3 separate regions of the Homo sapiens genome follow, and all the other regions are linked to region 1. The links are contacts of gene promoters, found by promoter capture Hi-C in human tissues and cell types (Jung and others, 2019). All regions are on one chromosome and are shown on one strand. Each heading gives the region's core, a stretch centred on a gene start or on the middle of the fragment in contact. The rest is flanking DNA. Distances are from core to core; before and after follow the strand shown. Region 1 holds the start of TMEM132D (transmembrane protein 132D). Region 2 has its middle 110 kb from the start of TMEM132D-AS1. Region 3 overlaps TMEM132D (transmembrane protein 132D).

The links. Contacts are between HindIII fragments. The study calls those that stand out against the background at their distance.
Region 2: a contact is called between a fragment that was not itself captured here and the fragment with the promoter of TMEM132D in region 1, in 2 of the 25 tissues and cell types used here (H1 embryonic stem cells and dorsolateral prefrontal cortex).
Region 3: a fragment that was not itself captured here is called in contact with the fragment with the promoter of TMEM132D in region 1 in 2 of the 25 tissues and cell types used here (lymphoblastoid cells and mesendoderm cells).

Annotation. Positions count from the first base shown.
Region 1 is chr12:129,902,374-129,905,665 of GRCh38, reverse strand. TMEM132D (transmembrane protein 132D) reads left to right here and starts at 1,641. Exons shown (of 9, transcript NM_133448.3): 1 at 1,641-2,405. The coding sequence starts at 2,327. The HindIII fragment of the contact is 10,076 bases long and covers 1-3,292 here.
Region 2 is chr12:128,999,503-129,002,794 of GRCh38, reverse strand. No RefSeq gene overlaps it. Among named protein-coding and RNA genes, the nearest start is that of TMEM132D-AS1, 110 kb to the left of the region's middle. The HindIII fragment of the contact is 5,326 bases long and covers 1-3,292 here.
Region 3 is chr12:129,321,558-129,324,849 of GRCh38, reverse strand. All of the region lies in intron 4 of TMEM132D (transmembrane protein 132D), which reads left to right. Among named protein-coding and RNA genes, the nearest start is that of TMEM132D-AS2, 110 kb to the right of the region's middle. The HindIII fragment of the contact is 7,193 bases long and covers 1-3,292 here.

The sequences.
Region 1 (3,292 bases), core at 392-2,891:
TAGATGATTTACAAATAGACTCAGACCCACTGTAGCGTTAAGGATGGAACCTGGATTATGCATTCAGTGCGGGCATCAATTTTGACACTCAGAGACCAGGTGAAGGTGTCCAAGAGACGAAAGCTCAGCTCTCTCATCACTCAGGTGAAGGAGAAAGGGGACCAGTGGTTCCAGCACGTGTTCCGCAGGCCGGCAGCATCAGCATCACCTGGAACTTTTTAGGAACGGAGATCGGAAGTCCCACCTTGACCTGCCGAGATAGCTCTGGGGTGGGCCCAGCAACCCAGGTCTAACAAATTTTCCAGTGACTCTCCTGCTGGTTCAAACTTCAGAAACAGTGAAAGAGACAATCTCTTAGGGTCTTTGCAGCGTCGACTCTTAGGAATTTTACAGGAGAGCAATACAAAGAGAAAAGGCAACAAGTTTAAGAAACAAACAAAAGAAAAAACAGAAAGACAGATATATTCAGATAAGTAGATACAGAATAAAAGACAAGAGCACATCTCAAAGGACATGAACCCAGAAAAACAATCTTCGGTAGAACAGCAGTGGCTTTTTTGATCTTCCTTGAAACTTTGAAAGCTAAAAACTCTTAAAGCATTGGTATATTTCTGCAACTACAGGCATACAGGATAAAAAAGTCCATTGCCCCCTCAGTCAGATGATAACGACCCATTTTTATCTACTGAGGTGAATTCACCTCATTAGATTCAGGGCTTGTTGGTTTACAATATTCCTTAAAAATTCTGAATGCTTTTCTTCCCTCTGAGCTTTGATGGGGTTAATTTAAAGGCTCTCGTGGAGCAAAGCAGTTCTTGGGCTACAAATTACAGGACGGTGCTTAGGGATCTTGGTGTGGGAATGTCTTAGTTGGAGATTCCGGGCGGTGTTGAGAATCATGTCTTTTATCTTCTCAAAGCAATGTTGTCTCCTAATGGATCCATTTCCTTTCCCAGTGAGCCCTGGGGAGCACACGACATGTTTCTAGGGACACTAACTTGGGGGATCGCTCTGGGAAGGGGCTTGGGGCCAGCATGACCTCAGTGTGGCGTGTCAGAGACTTCCTCACTGCGATCCCTGGGAGATGCGCAGGGCGGGGCGAGGGCCCTTCTCCAGCCATCCTTGCGCTCTCCCTGGCGAAGAGCCTCAGGTGCCCCCGGGCTGGAGGACCTCCCCTGGGCCTGAGGTTTTGATGACGACGAGAGGCCGGTGGCCAGCTGGACACCTGTTGGGAGAGTGGGTGGCTCCGTCCCCGGGGTGCGCCCGCGCTGGGAGCCCTCGCCCGCCGCCACCGCGCGTCCGCGCTCGCAGGGAGGGTGGCCGGGAGGCTGGGCGTGGGGCGGCCAGGGGGAGGTGGGATTTACTTTGCGGATTGGGGCTCACAGCTGTCACTCCGAAAGGGTGGGGCTTTTTAAAAGCAGACAAATTTTTAAGGCGAAAGCCCCAGCCGGCTCCGGGCACCGTGGCGATCGCCTCCGTTCCGTTCCGGATGCGGTCCTTGCGGAGCGGAGCCCCCGCGCCTGCTGGCAGGAGGCAGCTGCGTTGCTCGGCCGCGTCCCCGAGCCGGCGGGCCCTCCTCCGCGCACATCTGGCCCGCCTCCCCCGGGCGCAGGGGGGAGCCCCGCGTCTCCGGAGCCTGCAGTGCGCTCGGCGCGCGTAGAGCCCCGCGAGCCCCAGCCGGGCCCGGGGCCGGGCGGGCCGAGGCGGCGGCCGGGGAGCAGCCGCACCCGCCAAACTTTGGGTGCCGGAGCGCGCGCGCGCCCGAGCCCCGAGGCGCAGCGGCCGGCCTGGGATGGGGGCTGCGGGCCAGGGAGCCCCGGGCCGCCCAGCGAGCCCGGCCACCCGCCCGGGGGGCTCCGAGCCGCCTCTGCCCGCGTCCCGGGCTCCGCAGCCCCGCCACCCCGGCGCCGCCTGCGCCAGCGCCCGCTAGCCAGCCCGGGAGCAGCTGGAGCCGCCGGAGCCCTGCGCCTGGAGGCGCCCCTCCTTGGGCCACCGGGGGCCACTCTTCGCTCGGGTAAACAGGAAAGGAAATACCCCCTGTGGATTAAAATTTAAAAAAAATTCTGTTGGGGTCGAAGGAGGGAGGTGGGGTTTGCCTGCGCGCGTGTTGGACTCCGGAGAGCAACTCAGGAGCCCGCGCGGTCGTCGCCTCCCGGCCTGGCCATGGACTGGCGGGAAGAGGGAGCAGGGCGCCCGGGCTGCTCGGGCCCCTAGCCGGGCGCTCCCTCGCCACCGGCCCCGCTGCGGGCCTCTAGGGGACTGAGACGGTCTCTTGTTCGCCTGGACGGCGCCGGGGAGCGGAGGATCTGCGCTCCGGGTCTCCAGGATGTGCCCGTCTGAGATGGGGACGCTGTGGCACCACTGGTCGCCGGTACTCATCAGCCTGGCCGCCCTGTTTTCCAAAGGTGAGGACGCCGCGGCCGCCAGGGCCCGGGGACTAACTTCGCCTGGAGTGAGTGTGTGGGAGTGTGTGGAGGATGGGGGCGGCCGGGAGAGAGGGCTCGTGTGCAAGTGTGTGTGCGCGCTTGTGTGCATGTGTGTGTGCGCGCGTGTGAACGTGCGCTCGTGCGGCAGCCAAGCTCCTCGGACGCCCCTTGGCCGAAGGTGCTTGTCCTGGAGCACTTGGGTGGGAGGCCTTAGGTGAGACTACTAAGGAGCCGAAAGGAAAGGAAGGCTGTTTCCTGAAAGCCTTTTCTGTAAAGGGAGAGGGCGTGGGGACCCTTGAGAGGAAAGGTGGCCTCTGGAGGGCCGAGCCGGCTGTCGGGGGAGGAGGGGATTGAGATGACCAGGGAGATTTCTGGAATTTGGGATTGACTTTCCCTGGTGGCACTGACCTATTTGGAAATAATTTTGGAGCACTCCTGTTGTATGGGAATACTATTTTGTGTATTATAGGCTGCCAAAAATATAGCCTGGGGGGCGGCTCTGAAGAAGGGGGATGGGTTTCTCCAGGTCTGCCGCTGTGAGGTTTGGGCACAGGGTCTGGCGCTCACCCTTCCGTAGGGTGCTGGGAGCAGCAGCGGCCCCGCAGGGTGCACGTGGAGTTTCAGCTACAAGTTGTGACCCGAATTTTCCCAGCGGAGCCCTGACTTGAAGCCATGTGTCAAGGCAGGAATTCCTCAATGTTTCCTCTTCTCTTCTGCCAGCATCCCTGTCTGTCATGGGAAGAGCAAGTTTGGAAGCTCTGGACAGTCATTCTTCCTTGAAGAGAAATGGTGTGATTTGTGCGGGAGATTCTTTCTCATGATTGACCTGGGCTGCTTGTGTGTGGTTCCCCCACCCGTGCCCCTTT
Region 2 (3,292 bases), core at 210-2,709, 900 kb after region 1:
GAACCCTTCTGAGGCAAGCATGCATGAGATCAGAAAGGATGGGCGCTGGAGAGGTGGAATGGGCCTGGGGATAATAACCCACCTCCCTGGGAAAGAACAAACCATGAAAACACCGACAAGTCAACCAAGACCAAAGCAGGAGACAACGAATGCTCAGAGTTCACGCCAAGAAAGCTGCCCGGCCACTCAGCAGGACACCAGATAGAGCTGTTGACTTTCTCGTGACTTTGCATCTGACCTGAAAGAACAGGAGAAAGAGGGATACTTCCTGGAATGATGAAATTACACCGGACAAGTTAATGAAAAATTCTCAGTTCCCACTGAGGCATTAAATAGTTGATTTCCACATGGAAGCCTCCATCGCTTGTGACAAACTGTTTCTTTATTTTTTCCACAGAAATGTTAGAGACGAAAAAGATGAACCAAGAAGACCTCCCTTGACTGCAGCCTTGCCAGTGAGCTTCATTGCTCACCAGTGAAGATTCAGCCAGCGGAGGAAGAACAGGAACATCCAAAGATGGATTATGCTTTCGCTTCCAATTAGAATGGGCTGTTAATTACATGTTTTGAATTGACTTGAGTTATAAATTGCTCATAGAGAAAGAGAGCTGTTTTCCTTTTCCCAAGTAATTCAGCATTGCCACCTTCCATCGGCAAAAAATAAAGTCCTCTCTTGAGAGATTTTCAAATTTCAGTAACTGAGGTTGTTAAACAAGAAAAGGCAAGTTTAGCTCTGAGAGCTCAGAAGTAATTCACATTTGGTTAATTTGGGACTCTCAGGCTGGCCATTATGTCTTTAGATCACTCGGGTTGACTCTGAATTAAAGCTGGCATCCCAAATCGCTGCAATTAATCTGCTGAGTACACTCGCCACCGAATGTCAGGATTTCACTCTGTAGGGCCTTCAAAAAACTTGGCATGGCTGATACACTGACAGCCGCAAAACAGCTAATTTCAACTGAGTTAAGAACTGCAATGGCCATATTGATCCGTTAAACACCATGCCATATTTGAGTGGGAGGTTACTCCCGATCTCCCTCTTAAAACCCTCACAGATTAAAGTCATGTGCCCGTCTGTGTATGAAATGAACATTTCAACGTTTAATCCTGGAGCACTGTATTTGAAGTGTGCCCGACCTTTATGTCCAACTCTTTCTTTCTGCCATTTCATTAAGTACTGGCTAGAAGACCAAAACACAGCCTTAAGCCAGAAGCCCAGGAAATACCTACACAACACATGTTTTGAGCTTTGGATCAAGATTTCATGAGGTTTTAGGATGAAATATCTCCAGTGAGACGCCGGGGAAGAAGATGGAAAGGTGCCCTTCATGTTATGCCATGCCTTCAGCTAGTTCACTCCAGAAATGACACATTCGCCCCTCCTGTTGGCATTTGGACCTGGTAGGAACCAGAGACACAGTCACTGAGGGATGAGTCAGAACTTAGTAATTATGTTTTCTGCTTCATTCCCTTAATTCATTTTAAAATATCATGTTTTAATCTACCAAAAAATGCTCACTTTGGAAAACCTGAAAAACTACAAAAAAAATGCATAAGAAAATAAAAATTACTCATAACCTTATCACCCAAATACACACGTGCATACCACTACAAGCTCTGGTTTATGCATATGTATGCATCATTTCAATAAATATATATACATGTTTACCTATTCTATATAATAAATATAAAATATATATATGTGTGTGTATGTGTGTATATATATATATATATGTATATATATATATATGTATATATATATATATATATACCAAGTAGTTCTAAAGAAAGCTTGTGCCAAACTACCAATGACAATCCCTCTAGCAGCACGTGAGAGCTTGGTGATTTTAAGGTGTTTGCGTCTTTAGCCGGCACTTTGATGTCTTCCTTTCTTCCACCAACCTGCCTTCTAATTCCACAGGGCAGAGAGCAAATGCTCTGACTGATTTCATCAGTATTCGGTGTAAAATGTCCCCGCTTCCCATCCTCTCGCCCCCACCCCTGCTATAGCAGTGGCTAATTGCCTAAGCAATCCACATAGTGGACAGCTTATTCGTGCAGGGGGCCCAGGTGCGTTGAGAAGCTCTGGAGGGTGACATGCACATTTTATTCTGGAAACATGGAGGTCCTGGGTTGGCACATAAATGGATGGTCTTAGCTTGGCTAAAATGTATCTGCACTGGTGTAGTGGGTTGAATCGTGGCCCTCCAAAGATATGTCTACCCAAAACCTAAGCATGAGATCTTATCTGGAGCACGTATCTTTGCAAATATAATGAAGGCAAGAATTTTTTTTTTGAGACAGAGTCTTGCTCTGTCACCCAGGCTGGAGTGCAATGGCACGATCTCAGCTCACTGCAACCTCCGCCTCCTGGGTTCAAGAAATTATCATGCCTCAACCTCCGGAGTAGCTGGGATTACAGGCACCCACCACCATGCCAGACTAATTTTTGTATTTTTAGTAGGGACAGGGTTTCCCCATGTTGACCAGGCTGGTCTCGAACTCCTGGCCTCAAGTGATCAACCTCAGCCTCCCATAGTGCTGGGATTACAGGCGTGAGCCACTGCACCCAGCCAAGGTGAGGATCTTGAGATGAGGTCATCCTGGATTTGGTCCTAAGGCTGAGAATGAGGATCCTGACAAGAGAGAGAAGAGGAGAAGACAGAGAGACACAGGGAGGAGGCCACGTGAACACAGAAGCAGAGATAGTAGCAATGCGGCCTCAGGCCAAAGAACATCTGGAGTCAGCAGGAGCTAGAAGAGGCAGGAGGGAGCCTCCCCTAGAGCCTCTGAAGGGAGCACAGCCCTGGCCATCCCTGATTTCAGATTCCAGCCACCAGACTGTGGGGTGACAATCTCTGTTGTTTTAAGCTTCCAAGTTGTGATGACCTCTTTTTTTTTTCTTTTTTCTTTTTTTTTAAGACAGAGTTTTGCTCTTGTCGCCCAGGCTGGAGGGCCGTGGTGCGATCTTGGCTCACTGCAACCTCTGCCTCCTGGGTTCAAGTGATTCTCCTGCCTCAGCCTCCTGAGTACACTCCACCTTCTCTGTCCCTCAATGAGCCTGTGGCCCCTGCAGACGCCTGTCCCACCTTCCCTGTCCTGCATGCTGCGCCAGGGACTCGCTTGTAAGGATGGATGAGCCGCTTGCTCATCCAGTGGCTTCTAGGTATGGGGAGTATCAACAGCCAAGCAGAAGGGGGAGGAGAGTGGGTGTCCCTCCCTGCAGGGGCCCCACTGGGGCTGGGACCGGAGAGGCTGCACCCCTCCACACAAGGCTGCAGCTCCTATCAAA
Region 3 (3,292 bases), core at 410-2,909, 580 kb after region 1:
TCACTTTTTTTCTTTTTTTCTTGAGATGGAGTCTCGCTCTATTGCCCAGGCTGGAGTGCAGTGGCACGATCTCGGCTCACTGCAACCTCTGCCTCCCAGGTTCAAGCAATCCCTGCCTCAGCCTCCTGAGTATCTGGGATTACAGGTGCCCGCCACTATGTCTGGCTAATTTTTTGTATTTCTAGTAGGGATGGGGTTTCACCATCTTAGCCAGGCTGGTCTTGAATTCCTGACCTCGTGATCCACCCACCTCTGCCTCCCAAAGGGCTGGGATTACAGGTGTGAGCCACTGCCCCTGACCATCACTTTTTTCTTCTGCAAGTTTTTCAAGAAATTAAGGTAAAAGTAACGTTGAATGTCCTCTAGGGATGAAAAGACTAAATAAATCTATGATATTTTACATAGTAAGTAATAATAGCTGTGTTGTGTGTGTGGAGTCTAAACTCTTCTATCAGGCAGGCACCAAATGGCAAAATGCTGCATCTGTTAGGACCTTTTCAAATTCAAACCAAACTGGTTTATGCAGAAATCAGAATGTATTGGTCCACTGTTTAAGACTGGATTCGCTTGGTTATGCGAACAGTCAGACTGTGTCCAATTAGGCCATCAACCTACCCTAAACTGGTAACAATCACCAGATACCCAGGCCAGGCTAAGACAGACTTCCTAAACTCATCATAACCATGGGGACAGTATCACCATAACTCACTAAGATCAGCTTCCTGTAAATGCAGTCAGTAAAAGATGGATACTTGGATAAATTCAGGCTTCCAATAGAAAGGAGCAGAAGCTGGGAAACACATGAAGTTTGAAAAAAAGAAAATCCTCAGCCAAAAAATCACAGGACAGATATGGTTATATGGAATTTTGGGTGAAGGAGGTAACTGCTTTTCCATTTATTTACAAAACAAATCTTAAAACCTTCAAAAAAAAAAAATAAAACCTACTTCCTATAGAAAATGTGCTTGAAAAATCAAAATAATAGAGAGGCATGTGAAGAAAGGACCTACCCACTATTCCTCATTAATGAAACACACGTGGCTAGACAGGGAAGAGATGACTCCTGCCTTCAAGATGACATGGCTAGCACTGTGACCCTGAATGAAGCCAGCATACCTGTCCAGTGTAGCTGGTCATTGATACCTAAATCAAAGTGCTTGGTTGGTGATATGCAACATTGAGGATTAGGCTTCAGCTAAGATTTAAAGCTTTGAAATGTATTTTTTTTATAACCTGTGAACTTCCCATCAAAAAGGATTTGACAAACATGTAACAGTGTTTTTTGACAATCTTAAGCTCCAGGCCAGGCTACCTCTAATCACATTTTCCTAAAGAATCAGCACTTTTCTTCAGAATCAATTTAATTTTCTTCGGTTCACCAGCAGTGGTTTTTTGGTTTGTTAATTCATCTAATGCTAGATATTTTTTTTCTGTTTGTTTTTCTCTTTGCAGCATGTTCACAGAGTTTGGTGTTAATCCCCAAGGCTATAGCAGGTGGATTTATATCAATTTCTCTAATGAAACGATGGTGTGCATCAGAGAATATTATGCCTAGATCAGAAAAGATGGGAAAAGTTGCTATTTACGCTTTTTTTTTAAATTGTAAAAACACGAGTAAGGTAAATAGGAATGGGAAGAAGGGACATTTTAATGCCTTATGGGTAGCTGTATCATTAAACAACAGAAAGGCCTCCCTGCAGTAGAATTCTTTAAAATTACTACCTAAGGGATATGGTAGTTACAGTTCAAAGTGACTTTTTACAGAACTTATTTTTCCTAAACCTGTCAGCAACAAACTGGAAGGAAATACTTAAACTGCACTGTATGGTTCCACGCAGATCTATTTTCCTGACAATTTTTAAATGGAAATGGAGCCTATTCGTCCTCATGAATTTGCAGTTATATGCAAGTATAATAAGACAACATATGGAAAAGCAATGCAATGATTAAGGAAAGGATTTTGCAAAGCATGTTAACAGAGATCTGAGAGTCCTATCTATTAAATCTGTCATTCCCATTTTGAAAATGTGTGTGACTAGCCAGTTAATTATTTTACTTAATGTGAGAGTATTAAGTATTACACACCTCTTACTGTATGCAACAGATTCATCTTTGAAAAACAGAAAAGTTAAATTCTTTCCTAAGATATCAAACAGGTGGCAAATTTAGCCTTCTAGTGTAACAACCTTGGTGTAATGATGGAACCTAGAACCCATATCTTTCTAGAAAAAAATCCTTCCTGGATTTAAAGGAATTTGCCTTGTAGTAATAAAATTGGGAGATAGTAATAAACATGCAATTCAACCACCGAGAAACGATTCAGCTCTACAAAATAAACGGAATGTCTTCTTTATTAAGTGTCTGGACAGTTGTTGCATGTTGCTACCTGGTTCACACCATGCAGCCTCTTCACAAAACATTGTATCAATGCTCTACCATCAAGAGAAATGGCCATCATGGCATGGCCATTTTGCAGATGAGAAAATTAAGGCTGGTGGAAAGAAAATAAGTTACTGGAAGTCACATGAGTAACATGGATGTCTGGCTCCAAAACTGATGCTTTTACATCACCAGGATTTAAGCATGGAACTATATTAGTAAGAATATACAGGGCCAATGCAGCAAAAGGCATAGACATGTCTGTGTGTCCGACAAAAACCAGGAAGGAAACATTCGTCCCACGTATGGATAGATTGAAAAGGTCATTGTATCAATGCTCTACCATCAAGAGAAATGGCCATCGTGGCTATTTTGCAGATGAGAAAATTAAGGCTGGTGGAAAGAAAATAACTTACTGGAAGTCACATGACTAAAATGGATGTCTGACTCCAGCACTGATGCTTTTACACCACCAGGATTTAAGCATGGAACTATACTAGTAAGAATATACAGTGCCAATGCAGCAAAAGACATAGACATATCTGTGTGTCCGACAAAGAGCAGGAAGGAAACATTCGTCCCACGCATGGATGGACTGAAAAGGTCTGCCTCGGCCGGGTGCAGTGGCTCACGCCTGTAATCCCAGCACTTTGGGAGGCCGAGGCGGGTGGATCACGAGGTCAGGAGATCGAGACCACCCTGGCTAACACGGTGAAACCCCGTCTCTACTAAAAATACAAAAAAATTAGCTGGGCGTGGTGGCGGGCGCCTGTAGTCCCAGCTAGTCGGGGGAGGCTGAAGCAGGAGAATGGCGTGAACCTGGGAGGTGGAGCTTGCAGTGAGCTGAGATCGCGCCACTGCACTCCAGCCTGGGCGAAAGAGTGAGACTCCGTCTCAAAAAAAAAAAAGAAAA